Regions from separate parts of the Homo sapiens genome. Here all the other regions are linked to region 1. The links are contacts of gene promoters, found by promoter capture Hi-C in blood cells and fetal thymus (Javierre and others, 2016). All regions are on one chromosome and are shown on one strand. The core of a region is centred on a gene start or on the middle of the fragment in contact, and the rest is flanking DNA. Distances in the headings are between cores, read along the strand shown. Region 1 holds the start of PDE7B (phosphodiesterase 7B). Region 2 overlaps MTFR2 (mitochondrial fission regulator 2). Region 3 has its middle 49 kb from the start of MTFR2. Region 4 overlaps AHI1-DT (AHI1 divergent transcript). Region 5 overlaps AHI1-DT (AHI1 divergent transcript).

Region 1 (3,403 bases), core at 646-3,145:
ACCCAAGTCCGAGCCATGATGTGCTCTCACTTAGGTTAGCACAGTGGCCTCATTTATTGGTCTCTCTGCTTCTACTCTTGCTCCCTAGGAGTCTATCTTCCACAGAGAAAAGAGAGAAATCTCTTCAGAATTCGTGTCGAATCATAGACATTCCTCAGTTCAAAACACTCTGATAGGTAGGTTTTCACCTTGGAATAAAATCTAAGTCGTGTGCATGGCCTGTAAGACATGTCCTGATCTTGTCCCAGACATACCTTCTGAAACTTATTTCTTCCCTTTGCTCATTCTCTTCCAGCCACTCTATTTCCCTTCCTGTTCCTTGGCTCTGCCAAGCACTCATGTGTTGTGGGACCTTTCCATGGCTTCATCTGCATGGAAGGTAGAGGCACACAGTACCTGCTATGTCCCATCATTCGGGCCTCCGCTCCAAGTTGCTTTATCAGAGGGCTGCCCTGATCATCTTTCCTAAAATAGCACACACACCACACACACACACATGCACGTGTACACACACACCTCATTCTCCTTACCTTATTTTGAAGCCCTCATTGCCAACTGACATTATACGTTTACTTATTTTTCTTTGACAATTTCCCTGCTTCTCCAAAATGTAGACTCCATGGGGGCAAAGAACCATCTGTTTTGTTCACTATTGTAGCTTCAACACCAAAGATAAACCCCAACAACTACAGGGATGCTTAATCCTAGCGCCTAGGCTCTTAGGGATACATAAATACTTTCTTTCTCAAAGAAACAATATTAGTATTTGAAAAAGGAATGTGGACATTCTTTAGTGTTGCGCCCACCCCTAAAACATAGTCTGCCTCGGAGCAATGGAGAAATCTGATTGGCCCCTGTGGGTCCCATGCCCCCTTGTGGCTCTGTCGTGGGAATGGGGCTGGGGGCAAAGTCCATGCAATCCATAGAAGATAGAGGAAGGAAAGTTCCGCCCACCGCCCACCCAAAAAAGGTCTGTTAGCAGAATTTAGGATGGGGATGGGGAAAAGGAGGAGGATGTGGGGGAGGCAGAAACAACAGATGGCAACTATGGGGATTTTTCCAGAGTGGGAAGTGTAACCCAGGGATAAGCTGGGGTCCCTGGTAAAGGAAGTATCCCTAAATAACTGGACCTTCATACTCTTTGGGAAAGAACAAGCTGAGGCCCCAGGCACACCTGCATGGCATCACCATAGCCTTGCTTCTTGAATGACTCCTGCTGGCATCAGGAGGCATCTCCCTGGCAGGAACAAGCCTGAGGCTTCACCACGGAAGCTGGAGGAAACGCAGGGACCCATGGCACAAACTGACACAGGAGTTCTATGTTTCATTGCACATCATTTTGTTCACCAGTGCATTTGTACGATTCTGCCTCTATGGCTATCAAGTTTAATTAACAACTCATTTTTAGGTAAGAGTAAAAATGAATTAGGTAAAAAAAAATAAGCAACAGCTGCCAAGTGAGCATGGAGCACATACACTCACAGATGGAAAAAATCTACATCTTGCTGCTATGATTTAGCTCAGGGTTTTATATTTAATTTTTGTTTTGTTTTGCTTTTGTTTTTATACACCTCACCACAAGGTATTTTAAATTCTTTAAATGTATTCCCGAATATAGAAAATGTTTCTTGGGCTCTCCTGAGAGTGGGGTGCCCAGGCTGACCACAGGCACACACACATTCTTCCCATAGTACAGTACTTTAAAATTAATAGCACATGCAGAGGAAAAACTAAACCCTTTGACGTCACTCTTGAAATGAGGAAACATAAACAGAAAAGGCTCCACTCCAGTAAGCTGCCAGAGTTGAAGCCGATTGGTCTCTGCTTTTCCTTGCCTGTGGCAACTGACAGCACCTCCCAGCCTAGCAGGCCGGCGGCTGCTCACCCAGCCAGTCAGTTGGTCTGGGCACTGCAGCAGGCTCGGCTCTGTCCCAGCACTTGTCTGGGAGAAAAGTGGTGTTACTCACCCAGGGAGAGTCTCTCTTTCTACCTTCCTTCTTTCTCGATCTCCTTGTGTGCTTTTGTGTTTCTTTATTTCTTTTCCTTTTTTTTCTTTTTTTTTTTTTGTTACTTAATTATATTCCTAATCCTGGATGAAGTTGCTGGATTCTGCAGCACAAGTCTTCATGAACAAGCAGCACCGCTCAGAGATTTCACGGCATTCAAAGGTCACAGAACTGCCACTATGGTTAAATGTCTTGTTTAATGGTTGAGGTATGTACAACAAATTTAAGCGGCAAGCTCAGTTTTCTTGAGAGAATAGAGTCACAGAGAGATGGCAGGATTTTTATTTAAAATGAACCTGTACATATATATGTTTTTTGTCTGTGATTGTTACTACAGCAACCAGCTTTTGAATTTCCTTCCTTTTTCTAGGCGAACTGACTAAACATTATCACTTACCCTGAATTAACCGTTTAAGGGCAGCAGGGTTTCATTCCAACCAGTGTAATGAGACTCCGGCATTTTCACTGCACTTTGAGCCCACACTGAGGTGGTCTTTAAAAAAAAAAATAAAGAATGCAATATTTTTTTTCTCCAACATAAATCTTGGAGTTGGGTAATTTTCATTTTTGGTGGGACAGGATAGGAAAATGCTGGTAAAGGGATTGGTAAGGTTTGTGGAACAGGGAAGAAGGAAATTAGTTTTTTTCTTGAGTTTTTCATGTTGGTTGATAGCAGACTTCAAGATGAAGAAATTAGTGGCAAGAAGGGAAGAAGCTGATAGTGAGACTGAAGGTAGAAAAAAATCAATAGAAGATGTCCAAAAAATGAGCTCTGAAGAAAAATCCTTCATCACCTTGTTGCATTTTTCAAAAAATGTTTTGGATTCAGAAGTCCAGGAGAGATGCAAGTACTAAGTTACATGACCAGAAATTTAGATATTATTATTTATAAAGGAAAGTAAAACTTCTTTATTACCACTGCAAATTTGCTAATTATCTTTTCCTACAATAGTTGAAAATGGAGTCAGATATTCAATTAGGGGCTTAAGTGATTGAGCCTGGGGACTAATTAATCATTTAAAAATTCTGTTCTTCATGTGCTCTAGCCAGAGTGACTATTGCAATAAGAGTAAACCTCTTTGCACCAGAGACAGGCATAGGCATTCATATACAGTAAACACACTAAATGCTGCAGGAAGATTGGCAATTCAATACAGGGCTAATGTTGTTTTCAGTGGCACATTATTATGTCTTAAGGAGGATCCCTGCTAAAAATCATTCCTATCCAAAGAGTCGGTTTTTGTAACAGCAATTTAAGTAATATATGGTTACCATGGATTTCCCTATTACCCTTCTCAAAGTTATGCAATAGCAAATAAGACAGGATTATTTGAAATCCTTACCCTGTTCCAAAATTTCTAACCGATTTTCTTAAAGTTTCTATTCTCAACATTGAG
Region 2 (3,403 bases), core at 529-3,028, 390 kb after region 1:
CACAAATTGATGTATTCACTGTATAATGACATTGGAGAAATAAGCATATTATTTTCTAAGCAAAGCTTAAGATGGGTACTGAGTATTTAACTTTTCCACTTTAAGATTTGCTCATAAAGGACTGTGGGTAAACACGATTGCTTAAGAAAACTGTGTATAGTTATATATCATTTTATTTATTATGTATAAATATAAGTTATTGTATATTATATAATGTGTTTATATGTAAATGTTATAAATATACACTGTATAAATATCTTAAATTATATGTGTATTTATGCATTTGTATATATACATATGTATTAAAAAATTTTTAGCAATTATATTTACACACAGCCCTTTACAGCCAAATCTGTTGTGAAAAGCATTCAGTACCTAGATTGCTTTACATTTTATACACGCATACATACATGTTGTGTGTATGTGTGTGCATAAGTTTAAAGCAAGTTGTATCTCTATAAATTTATAAAACAATCATCTGGAAAACATGACTCACCTCAACTTGGTGGAAGTGTAGCAGCAATAACTAAAAACTATAAACATATGATGCCTCAAACCTATATCCTCTTTCAAACCAATGCATTCTTCCTCTTTAATATCCAATGCTTTCATGAAGAGTTAGAAAAGCTTACTGAGGGCCGGGCGCGGTGGCTCACGCCTGTAATCCCAGCACTTTGGGAGGCCAAGGCGGGCAGATCACGAGGTCAGGAGATCGAGACCATCCTGGCTAACACGGTGAAACCCCGTCTCTACTAAAAATACAAAAAATTAGCCGAGCGTGGTGGCGGGCGCCTGTAGTCCCAGCTACTCGAGAGGCTGAGGCAGGAGAATGGCGTGAACCCGGGAGGTGGAGCTTGCAGTGAGCCAAGATCGTGCCACTGCACTCCAGCCTGGGCGACAGAGCAAGACTGCGTCTCAAAAAAAAAAAAAAAAAGCTTACTTAGAAGACAACAGACTTTTTAATACAAAAATACAATCTTCTAGTATAGTAAAGCTAGTTCTTCTTTAAATCAAAGCCATCCCCTCACTACAAATGTGTCTTAATTTATCCTGAATAAACATCAGATATAATAATTTTGTATATTCAACATCCTTTTATGTACATTTAATGTTTTCATGGTACTTATTCAGAATTGTACTCACTTAAATACTAGATGTTCCTGTATGCTACTATACGTACTATATTCAGTACAGTATCATGCTGTACAGGTTGGTATAGGCTATACCATGAGTATCATCTAACTGAAACAAAAATCCTACTGTTACTTACTAGAATTTGTACTATTTTTCAGTTCCTGCATTTCCACAATTGCTGCAATCTGAGAGCGAAGAAAAGTCAGCTCATTTTCAAGGGCAGCTATTTTTCTAATTGCAGCTTCATTTACAGGCAGGTCATTTTTCACAGTTTCTTTCTGTCTTACAGCAGGTGACAGTGGATCCCGAACTAGTCGCAAAGGATGAAAAATTTCCACTTTCTCTTCTTCATTTTTCCATATACTATTTCTGTGGGTGAAAAAAAATAGGAAATGGAGGGAAGATATATTTCCAATCAAAAGAGGTATAAACTCTTACACTCCTACGTGAAAATCAAAAGACAATAAAACAAAATAAAAGCTACTCTCAGGCCGGGCACAGTGGCTCACACCTGTAATCCCAACACTTTGGGGGCTGAGGCAGTGAATCACCTGAGGCCAGGAGTTCGAGACCAGCCTGGTCAAAATGGCGAAACCCTGTCTCTACTAAAAATATTTTTAAAAATTCGCCGGTGTGATGACGTGCCCCTGTAGTCCCAGCTACTCAGGAGGCTGAGGCAGGAGAATCACTTGAGCCTGGGAGGCAGAGGTTGTGGTGAGCCAAGATCGTGCCATTGCACTCCAGCCTGGTCGACAGAGTAAGACTCTGTCTCAAAAAAAAAAAAAAAAAAAAAAAAAAAAACCTACTCTCTATCCCCCATGATTGTTTCTAGAGTCACCACTGAGGACAAGGAAAATATCTTATTTAGCTTTGTATTCCCAATATAAACAGAACATAGCCTCCAATGGAGGACCAGTCAGTGACCAGGGAATGAACAAAACAAACTTTGCTTTTAGATTATAAAACCAAAATAATTACCTGCAATTGTTCTACTTATTAACTTTAAACGCAGGTAAGTTAATTTATTTAGAAGTTCTATATAAGTTAATAAAGAGCCTTACATTCAGGATTATGTTAGGGTGAAATGTATGTTATTTTAACTATTTGAAAATTGGTGCCAGTTTGATACATAATAAAATCAGCCGGAATACTTAAATAATTGACACTTAATGTGCTTAGAGCCTGTATCTGAATATACTAACATATAAAGTAATACTCCCTAGGAGTAACACATCCAAATTTTGAAATACATTTAACATCATTGCCTGGTGCACAGTAAACAGTATATAAGTTTTGGCTAAAAACATGATTCTAATATCCCTTTAATAACCACTCCCTCCTAGGCCTGGTGTTAGGTTTAAATGTGCACTAAAAAAAAAACAACTGGCTAAAAAAATGAAAAGCAGCCAGTCTTCTTTATTAAGAAGATACAGTAGGGCACAGCACAGTTTGAAGATAAACAAAACAAAAAAGCTCAATCAATCTTAACAAGCTTCGACACATGCAAGAATTCAGTTTATAGCCCACTTCCCAAGATAAGCATATAAAATTACCGAAATCTGAGATAACTGGCTTCTTCATCATTTGCCACATACAAAATATCAGCAAAAGATGGAACCATAGATCCACAATTATCAGAGTCTACAGAGTTCAAGAGCGGGATCAACTAAAGTAAAAAAAGAAAAAAATAGTCAGAGCTCTGCAGGGAGTCAGGAGAAGACACATGCCCCATGGTATTAAATTAGTTAACAATCCAAAAGAAAGAAAAATAAAAAGAATATTCAATAGAAAAACATGTACCTGTTAGCACGAAAGAACACTGGGGAAAATGTTATGCTGAAGTCTAAGCACTAAGCAATATTCTCTCCCCTGGTTAATTTCATCTATCACAAAATGCAAAATAAAATTAAGCTCTTCAGTTATTGTTCACACTTGCCCATCTGTGAATGTCATTACAGACATGTACCACGTAACATTTAGGTCGATCATGGACTGCATATACATGGGGTCACATAAGATTATGATGAAACTGAAATATTCCTATCACCTAGTATTTACTATATTATACTTTTTATTATTATTTTAGAGTGTATTCCTTCTACTTAAAAAGAAAAGTTGGCTGGGCATGGTGGTGCATTCCTGTAATCCCAGCACTTTGGGAGGCCAAGGCAGGAGGATCAATTAAGGCCAGGAGTTCAAGATCAGCCAGGGCAACATAGCAAGATCCCGTCTCTACCAGACCAAAAAAAAGTCAGCCAGGTGTGGTGGT
Region 3 (3,403 bases), core at 469-2,968, 350 kb after region 1:
ACAATAGTTTTTTCTCCTCTCAGTTTATGAGCATACTCTTCTGAGTGGTGACAGTAGAAATAATTTCTCTGAAGGACTTGATATCCAAAGATCTCTAGATTTTTCTCTATCCAACTGGAAAAGAAACCTACAGAAACACCACTAAATTGCTTCCTTTGCGGGACAAATATGAATCTATTGTAATGCACAATCCAAGAGGAGACAGAGACAAATCCCAGTGCTCATCTTTAAAAAAGAACAGGGAATGGCAGATGAGTCTCTTATTTTATCCTTGTTAAAAGCACTTCAGATTACACATAACCTACTCCTACTCTTCTTCCCAGTAAGCAATTATATGTGCATTTTTTAAGTTGTCAGCAAAGTAAGCCTAATGGACCAAAATGTATGATCAGTTTTGGGGATTATTTATTTCTTCCTTCTTCCCACTGCTATAATTTACTTTGAGCCTTTTTTTTTTTTTAACAGGAGAGTCAGACTTTACATTTCAATGAATTCATTTTCTCAGAAACATCTGTCTCAGTCCACATTTGAAAAAAAAAAACTTCTACATGAAAACAAAAGACCTATAGTGTTATAGAACAGCATAAGTGAGAATTATACTCTGTAATTATCAGTTTTCAAGTATTAACCTTACTGAGATGGAGACAACAAAAAGTTCTGATCTTTCAATACTTGAGTTATGTAACGTTCTGAAATATTTCTGAGATGCCTCTACTGACTTTAGTTATTAAAAATGTGTTATTTTAGAAATAGCTTATCAAAAAATACCTTTTGGCATCTGGAGCTTTATCTTAAACTCTAACGGGAAGCTTGAGATTTTTTTTCTCTTATCAGTGTGGGCTTTTTTGTTGTTTGAGACCGAGTCTCGTTCTGTTGCCCAGGCTGGAGTGCAGTGGTGCAATCTCGGCTCACTGCAACCTCCTCCTCCCGGGTTCAAGTGATTCCCATGCCTCAGCCTCCTGAGTAGCTGGGATTAGGATTACAGGCACATGCCACCATGCCCAGCTAATTTTTGTATTTTTAGTAGAGACGAGGTTTTACCATGTTAGCCAGGCTGGTCTCAAACTCTTGACCTCAAGTGATCCACCCTCCTCAGTCTCCTAAAGTGCTGGGATTACAGACCCGAGCCACCATGCCCAGCCTCCGTGTTTTTTTAGTAGTAGGTTTCCAGTTCTCAAGTATGATTTAGTGAATGTTCAGCCCCACCACCAACCTGCAGAAATGTCAGGCAGCCAAGCACAGGCCCTATCCCCACAGTGATTGTCTGATCACTGCACAGACTGTGAAGTCCCCAGGTACCAGTGCCAGCCTCTGAGGAGGATAAGATGAGAAGAGACTTCAACAGGGTGGGCAGGCCACAGTGCAAGGGCTGCGTGCCAGGACCTCATTCTGCTGAGAGTTGGGGTATGTACAAGTGTCATTGAGAAAGGCCTAAGATTGTGGAGGGAGGTGGGTAACCTGACTTGAATATCTAAAAGGTATGTGACATGTCAATAAAGCTTCATTTGGGCTAGCAAGCAAACCAGAAGCAATTAACTAGACATCACTGTTTCTTCTTGGTATAGTCAGAGCTAAGTGTTCTAGGAACACTTAAACATTTTTGTACATATTATTGGTAAAGGCTCTGACCAGATGTCAATGATATTGGCAAACTTTGTCCATATAAATCAGGTGACTTGTAAGAAGTGTTCACTGAGGCTTAATTTTATTTCAGAAACAACGGCATTACTGCCTAGTTTACAATTTATAGTGAGCATTAGAGCTGATGTCATATGTTCCTTGCACTGTATTGACACGTGTGAACAGCAGGCATTGGCCAGAAACAACGCTGGTGCCATCTATGTTCCATTTGCAGCAAGAGATTACTCAACTCTTACTCTAACTCAAATGAGACTGTCAACGAAGATAGGAGGCATGGAGGAGAACTGACAAGAGGAGAAAGCTTATATTGATTCCGTATCCTGTGAGGGAAAATAAGCATTTAAGGAAGAATAACCAAGATGAATCAAATTACTCACTGAGTATGAGTTTTCTAGGGCTGCCCTAACAGATTACCAGAGTGGCTTCAAATACAAAAATGTATTCTCTCACAGTTCTGGAGGCTAGAAGTCTGAAATCAAGGTATCAGCAGGTCTCTGAGCTCTCTGAAGCTACCAGGGAAGAGTCCTTCCTTCCTTCTTCTAGCTCCCAGAGCTCACCAGAAATCCATGCCGGTCCTTGAGTGGTGGCAGCATAACTCCAACCTTTGCCTCCATCATCACAGGCCTTCGTCCCCATGGGTCTGTTTTCCCTTCTTACATGGACACGAGCCAGGGACTAGGGCCCACCCTAATCCCATATGGCTTCATCTTAACTAATTACATCTGCAAAGACTATTGCCAAGTAAGGTCATATTCTGAGGTTCTGGATGGACAGCAACTATAGGGGGCAGTATTCAGCTGAGGACACCTAGACACTCCTCACTCCTCACTCACTCACCCAATGCTTTACCTCCTACAGACACTCCTCACTCACTCACCTTTACCTCCTACCCATCCCCGGTACACATACACACATACACACACACACACACACACACACACACACACACACACACAGTCCATACGCATCTGTCAGACTCTTTAACTTTTTATTTGGAGATAATTGTAGATTTAAATGTTCTCGTAAGAAATAATACAGAGTTGGAACTTGGGGGTAAGTAGTCAAAATGAAAATAAAAGAAATAGAGAAGCTGAGCACAGCTGCTGATGCCTGTAATCCCAATACTTTAGGAGGCCGAGGCAGGAGGATCACTTGAGGCTAGGAGTTTGAGACCAGCCTGGGCAACATAGCAAGACCTCATCTCTATTAAATTTTTTTTTAATTAGCTGGGTGTAGTGGCACACACCTGTAGTCCCAGCTACTTGGGAGGCTGAGATGGGAGGATCACTTGAGCCCAAAGGTTGAGGCTGCAGGGAGCTGTTTCACACCACTGCACTCCTGCCTGGGGCAAGAGAGTGAGACCCTATCTCAAAAAAAAAAAAAAAAGAAAGAAAGAAAGAAAGAAATAGAGAGATCCTGTGAACTCTTCATCCACTTTACCCAATTTTCCCCATGGTAACGTCTTGTATAACTATATTACAATAACTATATTACAACCAGGAAATCAACATTGATAAAAATCCGGTAACAATTCAGACTTCAGCAGTGTTACATGCATTTGTGTGTGTTTACATGTGTGTGTGTGTGTTTTTGTGTGTGTGTATCATATCTTGCAGATTTCACCTGATTGACAGCATTGAGATAGAGCGTTTCAGGTTTGAGATGTGGTTGTTTTTACATATTTGGAGGTAGAGTGAGGAAGTGTGGAGAAGTTTCATGGAAGGAGGAACAAAACACATCTTTGTTTCTCTCTTCCATATCT
Region 4 (3,403 bases), core at 476-2,975, 350 kb before region 1:
GATGGTTGTTGTCTCCCTGTGTCTTCACCTGCACTTCCCTCTGTACCTGCCCGTATCTTAATCTCTTCTTATAAGGACAGAGTCATATTGGATTAGGGCTCACCCTAATGACCTCCTTTTAACTTAATTACCTCTTTAGAGACTCTGTCTTCAAATACAGGCACATTCTGAGGTACTTTAAGGTTAGAACTTCAACATATGCATTTGGAACTGGGGCATAACTGAGTCCATGACACTATTGGAGAGGGTTCTGGAGCCATAACAGATGGAATGAATGGGCCTTGTTTGGATTCTAATTTAAATAAACCAACTATAGAAAAACATGTTTTAGGCAATCAGATTTTTTGTTATGGGCTAAATATTTAGAAGATGTTAAGAAATGTTTATTAATTTCATTAGGTAAAATAATGTTGGTGTGGTTATGTAGAGTATGACTTACGTGCACAGAACAGAATGATAAGGTGTCCAGGATTTGCTTTAAAATATTCTAGATTTTTTTAAAAGGTGAGAGGAAATGACACATGTATATCTAAATTTTGATGGTTGTTGAAGCTGGCTGGTAGGTACCTAGTATTTCATTATACTTTTTCCTTTGTGTGTTTGGAAATTTTTATAATAAGCAGGAAAAATAAAAGTAAGAATATATGTATTATAGATAATTTGAAATATGTAGAATCATGAAAAAAAGGAAAAAATACTCAATACCACTACCCAAGAGAATCTAAATTAACTTTTTTGACAAATTTCGTTTCAGTCTGTTTTCCATGCGTATTTTAATTTTGGTCATGTTGTGTGTAAAATGTTTATTTCTGCTTACTTGAATGAACATTATGTTGCAATTTCATTTCCATGCTATTACAATAGTGCCCCCTTAACCATGGTTTTGCTTTCTGAGGTTTCACTCAACAAGCTTGGTTTGAAAATTTTTAGAGAGAAAATAAGAGATTACATTTACATAATAACTATTAATACAGTATATTGTTATAAAAACTTTATATTGTTATTAGTTATTGCTGTTAATCTCTTACTGGGCCTAATTTATAAATTAAACTTTATGAGAGGTGTGAAAGTTGATTATAGAAATTGGGTCATTCTTGTTGTACCCAACTAAATCAGAGTGAAGGGCCCAGGGGAAAAAGCATTTGGGGCATATAGCATCTGCTCCAAGAATTAAATTTTCCACAAGCCCAGCTACTGAAACTGCCTGTTGTAATCTGAAATCAGTTTTATCTGATAGCTAATGAAATAACCTGCTGTGACACTAAGATTAGTTTTACCCACTGCCATCACTCGCCAATCAGAGCTCGCCAGCTCCCCAAATGTTACCCATTGTTTCTTTGCAAAACAATGGGTAACATTTTTCCTTTTTATAAAACCTCCAACCTGATCTTTGTTTTTCAGACATACTGAAGACCACCCATTCTGTGTGTTTGCCTGGAAATGCAATTCTCATTTCCCAAATAAAATGTTTGAAATGTGGAAATTTGACTCTATGTTTTATTTGACTTTGAGAAAGGCATGCAAGTATAGTAAATACAGGCTTTGCTACTACCTGTAGTTTCAGACATCCACTGGGGATCTTGGAACATATCCCATGCAGATAAGAAGGAGATGCTGTATATATCACCACTTAATCATCACTGGAAATTCTAACTTTGTTAGTAATGTTCTTATGTGCACGTGGAAAAATTTCAAACAATCGTTCAGATATTTATAATGTGGTAACCGAAAGTCAGCCGTGTTTTTAATCACTGATCAGTCTTCTATACATTCTTTCATACTTCCATTCATACATATACTAAATATACTAAATTATAAAGATAACTTCTTACCATAGATTTTGTCCTGTCATCTTGTTTTTGTCCTTTATCAAGTATTATTATTTCTAAAAGGCTTTTTATGTCAGTAACATATATCTACCCCATTCATTTTAATGGCTTTATGCTATATCACTTCTAATCCAAAGTGTTTTTAAGCAATTATAGTGAAAGTGTCAAAAGGTGATATGGTGGCTTTTAAAAAATAAGATACTTTTCTTATAAGTCTCTCATATTATTATTTATTCCTCAGCATTTTATAGATTTTTGGTGCTATTTTGAATGCATCCAATTCTTATTACATTTTCTAACCGGTGATTGCACATTTTCCTGCTTTTCCTCTTTCTAGGGCTCCTTTACTAGTTCATGCCTATCACCTTGACCTCTTGATATTGGAATGTCCCAGAGGTATGTTCCTGGACTTCTCTATCTACACGTACTCACTCAGTGATTTCTTACAGTTCTATAGTCCCACTGTCATGTAGACTACTCCCAAATATATCCCTTCTGCCCATTATTCTTCCTTGAACTTCAGACTCATAAATCTAACTGTATATTACATGTCTCCACTTAGATGTCCGACATATTCTCAAACTTAACTTTTCTAACACTGAATTCCTCATCTGCCTCCTCAAATCCCCACTTTCTCCATCTCAAGCAATGACAACTCCATTCTTCCAGTTACTCAAGCCAAACACCAAATACATTGGAGTAACTGTTAAATCAAGCTTAGCCTAAAACTACCTCCTTACATATTTTAAATTCAGCCTAAATGTTTCTTTGTACATCTTAAACTATAACAAGTAGAAGTGTAACCAGATGTAGCCTACACTTGGGCCAATCACCAAGTTTTGGCCAATCAAATGTCGTCAACTATTCAAACCATGTTTAAATAAGGCAAACACAAAGCTGTAACCAATCCAGCTGGTTCTGTACCTCACTTCCATTTTCTGTGCCTCACTCCTTTTTCTGTCCATAAATCTTCCAGCACATGGCTGCGCTGGAGTCTCCGAGCCTACTCTGTCTGGGAAGGCTGTCTGATTTGCAAATCATTCACTGCTCAATTAAATTCCTTTAAATTTAATTCAGTTAAAGTTTTTCTTTTATCATAACCTTTGACCTTTCTCCTTTTCTTATACCCCATATCCAACCTATCAGATTACTATAGGTTCGAACCCAAATCCTATGAAACAGAGGATATGGTTATAATTTTGAGGGAAGATTTTTTTTTTCTCTACCTGAACTTTAGCCCCTACAAACAAACTTCCTTGTTTATCTTTGCTGCTGTAATCTTTTAAGGGTTCCACTTTTATGCAAACATCTTAGTTCTCACACTGAGCAAGGCCTTGAATCCTATGCTTTGGGAGGCCATTGCATTCTAAGACTACATTCCTGGCATCAGCAAGTGCCCCTCTAGTAAAAATGCCCTCAGCCCCTACTTTCCACTCTTGTTTTAGTTCTTTCTTCTCTTTGGCCCCCGAGGAATTCAATGATGCAATTTAGTCAGCATTTCTAGCTGGTTTTCAGGTTTTTTTTTTTTTTTTCAGAGTATCTTTGTGACATATTGGGAAAAGAGGAATTCCTTC
Region 5 (3,403 bases), core at 602-3,101, 300 kb before region 1:
GCTACACAGAGCATTATTTAGACTGTACATGAGTTACTTGTTTTAAACAACAATTATCCCTTCTTCCCCTGACCCCTCACCCTCCCTCACAACCACCTTCCTATTTGGATGAGTCCTCTGTACATGGCATGGCCAATGGAGTCCACAGACTGACCTGTCACTGCCATGGCCACAGCAGTTCTACATTCAAATGGATTCATGTTCACTGCCTCCACTTTTGCCATAGCTTCTTCTTCCTTTTATTGAATGGTTGAAGTTTGTTTCTTTAAGAAGTCTTCACGGGACCATAGTTCTTAAATTCATCCATGTTTGAAAATGTCTACTGTTTGTCTCTTTATGCCTGGAGAACACTTTATGCCTGGGGAAAACTTTATGCCTGGAGAACTATAAAAATCTCTGAAGTGCATAATCATTTCCCTGAAGACTTGACAGAAAGTTGAAATTTATCTGATTTTTTTCCCTTATAGATGACCAGATTCTTCCTTTATCTTTGAAATTTTATATATTCACCAGAAAAGATACATTACCAGTTTGATCGCTTTCATGCATTTTTGCTGAAACATCATGTGACATTTGAATTTGTAGATTCAAATATTTATTTAAAAATGATTTTTAAGTTATATTTTTGAGTACCTTTCTGGGTCTTATTGTTTTCTGTTTCATGGACCCTAAATAAATGTATACTTCATTTCTTTTGTCTGTCTTCCTTCCATAGCTTTACTTTCCTCTCTAGTCCTTTTAAACTCTTTTGGTTTGGCACAGTATTCTCAAGCTTGTTCTTCAGGTCCTTGAATTTGTTCTATCTGTCCTCCTTTCCGTGATATCTAAATGTGACATTCATTTTTGTGATGGTCTTATTTTCCCCTTCCATTTCCACCTAAGTTCTAGCATTTACAGAGGTGGTTCTTTCATTAAGTTCTCCTATCCAGGAGGACAGTTTAAAGTTTTCATCAGCTTCATGACAATACATTTGAGGTATGTGTTGTGGGCTTGTATCTATTTTTGGAAGAGGTTGTATTTCTTTTCTTTTTTAAGAGTGTTTTTACTTTGATCTCATGCTTTAAAAAATATCTGATCTTTGAATGAGAGAAAGTCTTTTTCTCAGCTCTTAGTTGAACTATAGAATAGTGCTATTTTACCCTAATCTGTCTCTAATATGATTATTTACAATGGTTCAAATGCATTTTCAGCAGAAAAATTGTTTTTTTGAATAAGTTCCAAACTTGCTTTCCTTATTAAAAGAAGCTAGTTGGAACTTGGGTCTGTGTGCTTAATTTTTAAGCAAAATGGAGCTTTTGCTCAAAATGGAGCTTCACTGCTTTCATTGGTTATAAAATTGAACCTCATGGGAAGTGTAAACATAAAAAGCATAAAGAAGAAAGCAAGAATCACCCATAATTTTTACCACTTAGAGATAATCACCATCATTTTGATGTATATAAGACTGTAATTTTTAAAGTATGTAAATTTATGTGACACATGTTTGTATATATAGTGTGTATACACACATACACAGATAAATGGCAGATATTTGCATGTGTGTGTATACACACACATTCATACATATATGTGTACTTAGTATATATATACACATACATGTGCTCATACTATACATACGTAATAAAGTGATCTAACTTTGCTTTTTCCCTAAAGGTCAGAGCTGATGTTCTCAAACCTTGCACAGAGGTCAGCCCTAGGGCACAAGAGCAAATTCATAGGGTGGGTGCCATGGGAATTGAAAAAAGTTTTTTCTTTATTTTCTCTAATTCTGATCCTGACCCTGACCCCAAACCCTAACCTTAACCCTAACCCTAACCCCTGGAATTTTAAAATTATTGAGAAAAATATAGTGAATGCTAGATGACCAGTTAGTGGGTGCAGCGCACCAGCATGGCACATGTATACATATGTAACTAACCTGTGCAATGTGCACATGTACCCTAAAACTTAAAGTATAATAAAACAAACAAACAAACAAACAAAAATATAGTGACATTGATATCTTTTAGATACTTTTTGAGATACTAAATGGAAGTAGTTCATTTTATAGTTCTGTCTTTAGATTGAGCTATGTTCCTTTCAATGATGTTATCTTTGCAAATCTGAGTTGATGAAATTAAAAGCAAGTAAATACCCTGTGAAAATTATCTGGGAACAGGAAACGAGGGTGGCAGTATTCATTCTAAGTCCAAGGCTTGAGAAATTGTGCAGTGCCCAACATTAAACAGATCCCATTAATAAGTAATTTGGTTAAGAATGACATAAAAATAATATTTCAATTTATGTGTATTATTTCTTTCAAGCATGGAAATCTGTGCCCGGCAAAACCCTCAATCAAATATATGGCATAAAAAAGATATTTTTAGACCCCTAAGATCTTAAAACAGTTACCTCTCTTCTAATTGGTCTAAAAACTTTCTCAGGAACCTGTTGGAGAATGTACTCCTTGGAAATAAGGAAGAAAGAGGATCCAGGGAACAGGAGTTTCACCACAGAGGAGCAGGAAAGGGAATTCCCAGTATGATGGCAAGTTGCTAAATTAAATGTTTTGCCCATTATTTTTTACTGGGCTGTTGGTCTTTTTCTTATTGACTTAAAGAACTCTTTATTATAGGAGATAAACCTTTGTTGTGTTGCAAATTATTTCTTGAAATGTTTTTACCTCTTGAATTTGTCTTTGAGTTTCTTTTTTCTTTGCTCTACAGAAACTTAAAATATTTATTTGATCAAATTGATTAACGTAAGGATAATTTTAACTCTCAGATCCTGTGACCCTATTAAGTTAGATACTATAACTTACAGAAACTAAGCCAGCTGTCTGACTTCTTCGGACTTTAGATTTGTTATCTGTAACATGACGAGTCTTCTGCTAGCTATTTGTGAAGTCCCTTCCAACTGTGATTATTGATCAGTATTGACTTCATGTGATGGGAAGCTTTTGACAACAAATTTAAATTAGCTCCTGGAAAAATTCTAGAAACAATCAACAACAGGATTTTAGATAAAACCATGATATTAAACATCATAAAACCACAAAATATACAGATTGAAGTGGCAGAAAAATTCAGTGACTACTGCTGAGACGACATGGAGAAAGAACACTTCCTCATTTTGTCTGAGGCCTGGTGATTCAACGGCTGTGTGAACGGAAGGTAGGGCATCAGCAGGCCTGGAAATATCAAACTGGTCTCTACCAAGCTTCTCACTAGCAAAAAGGAAAGAGACGGGAACTTGTTGAAACTCCCCCTGCAGCATGTTTTGGACACAAACATTTCTTATTGTTTTTTTTTCTTTTTTTTTTCTGTGAGTGACAACTCATTCACAAAAGAGAAAGGTGACCAGAGAGCTTTGAAACTCATTCACAGGCTATAGGGAACTTTCCTCACTCTCTGAGCTCCTCCTT

Evidence for each region. The method cuts DNA at HindIII sites, captures the fragments that hold promoters and counts their contacts. A CHiCAGO score of 5 or more calls a contact.
Region 2: a contact is called between a fragment that was not itself captured here and the fragment with the promoter of PDE7B in region 1, in 1 of 17 cell types (total B cells). The highest score is 6.1, in total B cells.
Region 3: a contact is called between a fragment that was not itself captured here and the fragment with the promoter of PDE7B in region 1, in 3 of 17 cell types (M2 macrophages, M1 macrophages and megakaryocytes). The highest score is 5.6, in M2 macrophages.
Region 4: a fragment that was not itself captured here is called in contact with the fragment with the promoter of PDE7B in region 1 in 5 of 17 cell types (erythroblasts, total B cells, naive CD4 T cells and 2 more); the score reaches 6.5 in erythroblasts.
Region 5: a fragment that was not itself captured here is called in contact with the fragment with the promoter of PDE7B in region 1 in 1 of 17 cell types (endothelial precursors); the score reaches 5.1 in endothelial precursors.

Annotation. Positions count from the first base shown.
Region 1 is chr6:135,849,806-135,853,208 of GRCh38, forward strand. PDE7B (phosphodiesterase 7B) reads left to right here and starts at 1,896. Exons shown (of 13, transcript NM_018945.4): 1 at 1,896-2,214. The coding sequence starts at 2,194. RefSeq lists a silencer at 1,683-1,920. The HindIII fragment of the contact is 11,590 bases long and covers 1-3,403 here.
Region 2 is chr6:136,240,174-136,243,576 of GRCh38, forward strand. MTFR2 (mitochondrial fission regulator 2) reads right to left here. Exons shown (of 8, transcript NM_001099286.3): 4 at 2,688-2,800; 5 at 1,271-1,503. Among named protein-coding and RNA genes, the nearest start is that of MTFR2, 8.4 kb to the right of the region's middle. The HindIII fragment of the contact is 1,691 bases long and covers 934-2,624 here.
Region 3 is chr6:136,200,080-136,203,482 of GRCh38, forward strand. No RefSeq gene overlaps it. Among named protein-coding and RNA genes, the nearest start is that of MTFR2, 49 kb to the right of the region's middle. The HindIII fragment of the contact is 443 bases long and covers 1,498-1,940 here.
Region 4 is chr6:135,502,650-135,506,052 of GRCh38, forward strand. All of the region lies in intron 2 of AHI1-DT (AHI1 divergent transcript), which reads left to right. Among named protein-coding and RNA genes, the nearest start is that of AHI1-DT, 6.6 kb to the left of the region's middle. The HindIII fragment of the contact is 1,635 bases long and covers 909-2,543 here.
Region 5 is chr6:135,552,605-135,556,007 of GRCh38, forward strand. The region is part of intron 2 of AHI1-DT (AHI1 divergent transcript); the gene reads left to right. Among named protein-coding and RNA genes, the nearest start is that of AHI1-DT, 57 kb to the left of the region's middle. The HindIII fragment of the contact is 2,163 bases long and covers 771-2,933 here.